Linked DNA regions of Homo sapiens: region 2 is linked to region 1. Evidence: promoter capture Hi-C in 16 types of primary human blood cells and fetal thymus (Javierre and others, 2016). All regions are on one chromosome and are shown on one strand. The core of a region is centred on a gene start or on the middle of the fragment in contact, and the rest is flanking DNA. Distances in the headings are between cores, read along the strand shown. Region 1 overlaps SARNP (SAP domain containing ribonucleoprotein). Region 2 holds the start of PAN2 (poly(A) specific ribonuclease subunit PAN2).

Region 1 (3,942 bases), core at 845-3,344:
AAAAGTTTTCGAGTTCTGTCACGCGGCTCTCGGCCCGCCAGCCTTCCTCACACACCATCTCCAACCACCAGAGAGAACTCACACCTGCAATATTTGGGAAAAACAATTCCAAGGTTAAGATTATCTCTGTTCCATTTCATATCTCGGGTGGGCCCTGCATCTCCTGGTGTTACCATTGGCTGACACTGAATCACAGAAGCTATTTTAAATTGTCTTATGAGACTCTTGGTAGTTTTTTCACACTTAGATATATAAAAAAGTTAAAAAAATATATTAAAAAGAAGAACATTTTAAAAAGTATTTTCTTTTAGGGTAAATTAAGATATCTTGAGTAATTGTCTGTTTGTGGTTTCACAAGTAGTTTTCCCATTAGATGTTTTGGACAAACCAGGCTGATATAGCTGAAACTGAAAAGTGATCCTTTAAAGCTCGAAAAGTTTTTTTTTGTTTTTGTTGCTGTTAAGAAAGCTTAAGGGTAGTAAGGGTAGGGAGAGGACCCTTCTTTAGTCACTTATTAGTTGACCCCAATTAGTCTTTCTGTGAAACTGATGTTTTTCTTACTCTTGGATTCTAAACTCTGTTAGTGGGTTTTTGTGTTATTCTGGAGTTATTGTTAACTTGATGATACTGAAATGCATAGACTATATCAGCGGTCTCTTGATCTTTATTGTGATGAGTTAAAAAAAATTGAGCAATCATCTCCACTTTGTTTATATATACTGTACTTATAGAAATTGTATACTTCTGGACTGTTATAAAATATAACACAGAAAAGGAATTTTTGAATGAGATAAAAAGGAACTATATATAGAAGAGCTAATATTTTCTTCCTATTTGTCCTATTTTTGAAATCCCTGGAGTAAGTCACCAGCTGCCCGATGACTTACTTGCATTTATAGATTGTGTTGGTTTATGGAGTTCCTCCTTCCATCAAATCTGTATTTGTCAGGTCTATATAAAATTTGTATTTGATTGGATAAGTAACTTTTACGTAAAGTCCTCTGACCTGATTTCAGTGTTACAGTCTAAGAGAACATTAGGCACTCCTGACAGCCTAAAAAGGACTTGCTCTTTAATCACATTTGCTTGTCTTTGCTTTTTCTCTAGAGCACTTCTTAACCTTTTGGAGGTCACAGATATCTTTGAAACTCTGATGAAAGGTATGGACCCTCTCCCCAGAAAAAGGCATGTACACATATTTTGCATGCAGTTTGAGGGGCTTCATAAAACTACCTTGTAGCCCCGAGGAGTCCATGGACCTCTGGTTAAGAACTCATGCCTTTAGCTGGGCGTGGTGGCTCACGTCTGTAATCCTAGCACTTTGGGAGGCCTAGGCGGGCGGATTGCTTGAGGCCAGGAGTTCGAGACCAGCCTGGGCAACATGGCGAAACCCCGCCTCTACCAAAAATGCAAAAATTAGCCAGGTGTGGTGGCAAGTGCCTGTAGTCCCAGCTATTGAGGAGGCTGTGAGGAGGCTGAGGCACAAGAATCGCTTGAGCCCGGGTTGGAGGTTGCAGTGAGCCGAGATGGTGTACTGCACTCCAGCCTGGGGGACAGTGAGACTCCGTCTCAAAAAGAAAAAAAGAACTCATGCCTTTGATTCTGATTTTTAGGACAATTAATGTTTGGTTCCACTGGTGATCTTGATGCAATGATCCTGACTTCTGGGTTGACTTGGGGTTTTATTGCCTTAAAAAAAAATCTTGGCTGGGTGCAGTGACCCACACCTGTAATCCCAACTCTTTGGGAGGCGGAGGCCAGGAGTTTGAGACCAGCTTAGGTAACATAGTGAGACCCTGTCTCTACAAAAAAAATTAAAAAATTAGCTGGGCATGGTGGCACACACCTGTAGTCCCAGCTCCTCAGGAGGCTGAAGTGGGAGGATTGCTTGAGCCTGGGAGGCCAAGGCTGTGGTCAGCTGTGTGATAATTGCTCCACTGCACTTCAGCCTGGGTGACAAAGGGAGACCTTGTCTCAAAAAAAAGAAAATAAAAAAATCTCTCCATTGTCATAAAGAGAATTTTGGGCTTTGGTATGGAACCTCAGGGGAAGGGAATACCTTTTGAAGCAGGAAGGAAACATAGTATGTATCTGAGTTGATATGTAATGTCATATCAACAGCAAATTTCTGAGGATTTTGTAGAAATGCAGTCATTCTTTTTTTTTTTTTTTTAAATTGAGATGGAGTCTCGCTCTGTCGCCCAGGTTGGAGTGCAGTGGCAAGATCTCGGCTCGCTGCAACCTCCGCCTTCCAGGTTCAAGCAATTCCCGTGCCTCAGCTTCCCGAGTAGCTGGGATTACAGGCACGTGCCACCATGCCTGGCTAATTTTTGTATTTTTAGTAGAGATGGGGTTTCACCATGTTATTGGTCCGGCTGGACTTGACTGACCTCAGGTGATCCTCTTGCCTTGGCCTCCCAAAGTGCTGGGATTATAGGCATGAGCCACCACTCCTGGCCCATACTAACACATTTGGAAAGAGAGATTGAACTGTGGATGAAAATGGCTTGAACTGTAACAGTATCAGATATCCAGTCAAACATTAGAAAAGGAACTATTGCAGAGGAGAGGAGAAAGTGATAGTAGTGTCAGAGTGTTGAGAATAGTGAGACATTTGTATTGAAAAGTGAAGTGAGGAAATATATTGGTAGTTGAAGATAGTTTGGAAAGGAAAATAGGTAAACTATAAAGGTAAATCAGAGTGATATTGAAAAGGGCTTTCTAAGTTATGTAAGGACTTCTGGCCTTTGTCATGTAAGAAGTAGGGCTGGGAGCCTTTGGAAGTTTGAAAGGAGGAGCTTGATGTGATCAGCTTGTATTCTCTTGGCGGATGGGATTTGTAGGGGGAGCGATTTCACCACTTAGATATTTATTATAGGAGTCATTCCCCTGCTTAAAACCTTTAAATTATATCCCTGCCCGTCTCTCCAGCATAGTTACTAACTCTTCAACTACTGTGGCCTTATTTTATTTAATTTCTTCAGAATGCTTCATCAATTGCCAACACTTAGCATTTGTTATGTGGCAAAGCACTGTTTGAAGCCATTTACATACACTAACTGATTTAATTCTCATAATAACCCTGTAAGGTAAATACCTGTATTATCCTCATTTGAAAATAAGAAAAACCATAGCTCAGAGAGAGTAACTGAGTAACTTGCCTTAGGTTGCACAGCTAAAATGTTGTATATTAAATCCAAGCAGGCTGGGTGCAGTGGCTCACGCTTGTAATCCCAGTACTTTGGGAGGCCGAGGCAGGCGGATCACCTGAGGTCGAGAGTTCGAGACCAGCCTGACCAACATGGAGAAACCCCGTCACTATTAAAAATACAAAATTAGCTGGGCGTGATGGCACATGCCTGTAATCCCAGCTACTCGGGGGGCTGAGGCAGGAGAATCACTTGAACCGCGTAGGTGGAGGTTGCGGTGAGCCGATATGGCACCATTGCACTCCAGCCTGGGCAACAAAAGTGAAACTCCGTCTCAAAAAAAAAAAAAAAAAAAAAATTCCAGGCAGCCTGTGTCCAAAATTCATGTTCTAATCATTGCACACTGCTTCTCCCTCTTACCTCAACCTAGAACCTTCACATATGCTGCAATTGGAGTTTTCTTTCGGCTGTAGTACTCCGGCTGCCCTTCCTCCCTAACACGTTTATCTAATTAATTACTACACCCCTTTCAGGTGTTTCACTCAAATATTATTTACCCAAGGAAGCTTTCTATGTTCTATCCACAAACATGGTCAGGCCACTTTTTATATAATTTCATAAGACCCTGTGTGTTCTTAAAAAATCAGCTAAACATGCCGGGCACGGTGGCTCATGCCTGTAATCCCAGCACTTTGGGAGGCCAAGGTGGGCAGATCACGAGGTCAGGAGTTTGAGACCAGCCTGACCAATATGGTGAAACCCCATCTCTACTAAAAATACCAAAAGTAGCTGG
Region 2 (3,942 bases), core at 1,068-3,567, 520 kb before region 1:
AATTTTGTATTTTTAGTAGAAACAGGGTTTCTCCATGTTGGTCAGGCTGGTCTTGAACTCCCAATCTCAGGTGATCCACCCGCCTGCGGCCTCCAAAAGTGCTGGGATTACAGGCATGAGCCACCACACCCAGCTTAAGTGGCTAGAGTTCTAATGCAGACAATCTAGCATCAGATCCTGCATTCTTTTTTGTTCTTGGTTTTTGGGGGGTTTTGTTGAGACAGGGTCTCACTCTGTCACCCAGGCTGGAATGCAGTGGCACCATTTCCGTTCACTGCAACCTCCACCCCTGGGACTACAGGCACAAGCCACCATCCCGGTCTGGATCCTGAATTTTTAATCACTGCATTACACTGGATACTGTACGCCAGGTATGGTGGCTCATGCCTGTAATCCCAGAACTTTGGGGGGCCGAGGCAGGAGGATCGCTTGAGCTTAAGAGTTCAAGACCAGCCTGGGTAACGTGGCAAAACCCCACCTCTACAGGAAAAAAAAAATTATCTGGGTTTGGTGGCCAGTGCCTGTAGTTACAGCTAGTTGGGAGGCTGAAGTGGGAGGATCGCTTGAGCCCAGGAGGTTGAGGCTACAGTGAGTGAGAGGGCCAATGCGCTTAAGCATGGGCAACAGAGTGAGATCCTGTCTCAAAAAAAAAAAAAAAAAAAGGCTGGGCGCGGTGGCTCACACCTGTAATCCCAGAACTTTGGGAGGCCGAGGCAGGCAGATCACCATCTAATATTACTGTATTAGAAACAGTAATTACAGCTGAGCTAAATAATCTATGTCATGGATGCTCTTGTGTCTCCTCACAGTATCCTTTTTTCTTTTCTTTTTTTTTTTCTTTTTTTTGAGACGGAGTTTCGCTCTTACTGACCAGGCTGGAGTGCAATGGTGCCATCTCGGCTCACTGCAACCTCCGCCTCCCAGGTTCAAATGATTCTCCTGCCTCAGCCTCCCAAGTAGCTGGGATTACAGGCTCCCGTCACCAGGCCCGGCTAATTTTGTATTTTTAGTGGAGACGGGGTTTCTCCATATTGGTCAGGTTGGTCTCGAACTCCCGACCTCAGGTGATCCGCCCACCTCGGCCTCCCAAAGTGCTGGGATTACAGGCGTGAGCCACTGCGCCCGGCAGACATGGATTATTTAGCCCAGGTTATTAGGGATCTGTAACTCTCATGGGTCTGTTAAGTCTTTCTCAATTTGAGACCTCAAGATGGAGATTTCTTAAAGTGTAGGAACTGTCTATGTCTCTCAGCATCCACCTTTTTCGGAGATTCTATATCTAATGACCTGCGAAGTCAGATCAAATCAGTTTGAGAGACCATCTGTGTTTTTCTCTTGGTCTAGGCTCTAGGTAGGATCTCTGACTGGGTATAGGACCCCACCCCTCTGAGTCCTAGAAATTTAAATTCTTGGTTCCTTTAATGAAGGTCTATTTACCAGCCTTTATTGAGAGAAATGTTATAGAATTGAATCCTCCATGAGGAATGTCTCCCATCAGAGTCCCTTTATGTGGCCTTTAGAAACAGTAATAACAGCTGAGCTAAAGTGCTCTGAGACATCTCACAACCTAGACCCATTTCAAAGTAATTAGAGTTCACAGGACCCACGAATCCTTCAGAATAACAAGTCCCAATTTGCCATGCTCATCCCCCTCTGAGGGATAACGTCCAGCCAGCCTCAAGAGCTAGGGGAATTTGATAACCAGGGGCATCTTGTTACCCGGGAATGTTACCGGGGTCTCTGGGGAGGGAACAATCACGGATGGGAGTTTCAGATGGATGCCTGTAGAAGATGCAGCCACTTGGACTGTGTCAGGAGTCCGGCTCCCGCTTCCTTTTTTTTCTCTCCCATATCTGGAAATAATAGGAAATGCCAGCGAGTTTTGGGGGCAACAGGGTCAGAGGTGGCGGAGTGGCTCACTAGGGCACCGCAGGAAGAGGAGGTAGACTAAGCCCCGCTGGGAATACCCAACAGCGACTCCTAGTGCTTTGCCTTGTGTGTCCCTTATTTTAGAGTTCCTAAAGTTATAGAAAGCATAAAAGTTTGGTTTTCAAACCTAGACGTAATTTTGTTCAAGAAGACTAAAAACAGAGTTACTTTCTAACGCCACCCAACAAGTCCGGCGTCTGGCTGCGTTTGTCCCACCGGCGCCCCGTAACCTCTTTTTCCGGCGCGTGCGTCACACGCTCTCTCCTGGGGTCGCCGTACCTGGCTCCTTCTGATTGGCTTAGATGCGCCCGGAGCCCTTCTGATTGGCTAAAATATGCCCCGAGCCCTTCTTGATTGGAAGAAGCGCCTCGGACCCCGGTCCTTGGCGCCGTAGTGGTTAGGTTGAGCCCTAGGCGTGGGGGAGAACTGGGGAAACTGGAATTTCCCGCGGAGCTGACAGCGCTTGCGCTCCCCCTACTCGTTCTAATTCCACGCGCTCCAAAATATCCGCCATGGAGAAATCTTGGTAATGACCCATTCCCCGTAAGCATCCCAGGAACACATCTGACCCTTGCCCTATCCCCCTCCTCACCGCTGCCGTGGGAGAATTCTAGATAACCGATTTTTCTGGTTCCCCCAGAGAATTCTGGGTAACTAGCCGTTTCCGTCACCTTCCCCTGCCCCCGCCCCAATTGTGGGTAACTGGCCATTATTGTTTTCCTCTAGAGAATCCTGGGTAGCTATTGGAGAGGATTCTAGGAAACTGACTTCTCGTTCTCCCCACCGTCCAATCCACCCGTTTTCACCCCCAATTCTGGGAGAAAGCACCTTAAATCCCTCTACCTAACTCCAACCCCCGCAATTCTCGCTCCCTTCACCTGATGATTCAGGGCTGAACAAGGCAAGTGAGCAGTCCGAAGTGAGAAGAAAGGGAAGTCAAGGATTAGGTTAGATAATGGGGTGGTGGAGAGTACAGAGGGCCTAGCGGAGGAGGGATAGGGACAACAGTTCTACCACCTCCACCCCCACTGCCCATCCCTCCCCCGCCTGCTTCATCCTTTGGCTGGCAGTCTCATCCCTCATGCCTGCCTCATCTCCCTCCTGCCCCCATAACCTAGAAGACCCTAAGTACCAGTACCTGGGCCTACCCTTGACTCAGCTACCTCTTTCCCCTTACAGGCCAGGATGTCCATTCTAGGCCCATCGGTGCTGTCTTGCTGAAGGTTGGGTCAGGCATCTAAAGGGACTGTGGTAAGGGAGGGTGTGACACAGGTGTAAGCTGCCATCGTCATCATGAACTTTGAGGGTCTGGACCCTGGACTGGCAGAATATGCCCCAGCCATGCATTCTGCCCTGGACCCTGTCTTGGATGCCCACCTGAACCCAAGTCTGCTACAGAATGTGGAGCTGGACCCAGAGGGAGTGGCCTTGGAGGCTCTTCCCGTCCAGGAATCAGTGCACATAATGGAAGGTGTCTACTCTGAATTGCACAGCGTGGTGGCTGAAGTGGGTGTACCTGTTTCCGTCTCCCACTTTGACTTGCACGAGGAGATGCTGTGGGTGGGGAGCCACGGGGTAAGAACTGTACCCCTTTGTGAGGGTTGAAAGATGTTGAAGGTCTTTATCTGGTCTTAACCCAAGGAAGCTGCTTTGCAGATAGCCAGTACCGAGGAGTTGTAGTGATGAGACAGCTGGGTCTGGTTGGAGGGATAAAGGGAGAATCTAGGATCTAGGAGTAAATGACATATTCTTTCTCAGGAGGCATCCCTTTTTTTTTTTTTTTTTTTCGAGACAGGGTCTTGCTCTGTCGCCTAGGCCAGAGTGCAATGGCGTAATGTGATCATGGCTCACTGCAGCCTCAATCTCCTGGGCTCACACAATCCTCCCACTTTAGCATCTCAAGTAGCTGGGACTACAGGCATGCGCAACCAAGACCAGCTAATTTTTAAAAAATTTTTTAGTCTTACTATGTTGCCCAGGCTTGTCTCAAACTCCTGAGCTCAAATGGTCCTC

The links. Contacts are between HindIII fragments. The CHiCAGO score rates a contact against its expected background, and 5 or more counts as called.
Region 2: the fragment with the promoter of PAN2 here is called in contact with a fragment that was not itself captured in region 1 in 1 of 17 cell types (naive CD8 T cells); the score reaches 5.4 in naive CD8 T cells.

Annotation. Positions count from the first base shown.
Region 1 is chr12:55,813,105-55,817,046 of GRCh38, reverse strand. All of the region lies in intron 1 of SARNP (SAP domain containing ribonucleoprotein), which reads left to right. Among named protein-coding and RNA genes, the nearest start is that of SARNP, 2.6 kb to the left of the region's middle. The HindIII fragment of the contact is 3,247 bases long and covers 471-3,717 here.
Region 2 is chr12:56,332,375-56,336,316 of GRCh38, reverse strand. PAN2 (poly(A) specific ribonuclease subunit PAN2) reads left to right here and starts at 2,317. Exons shown (of 26, transcript NM_014871.6): 1 at 2,317-2,455; 2 at 3,109-3,504. The coding sequence starts at 3,223. RefSeq lists enhancers at 1,880-2,049, 1,967-2,186, 2,312-2,481 and cis regulatory regions at 2,396, 2,381-2,412. The HindIII fragment of the contact is 11,393 bases long and covers 1-3,942 here.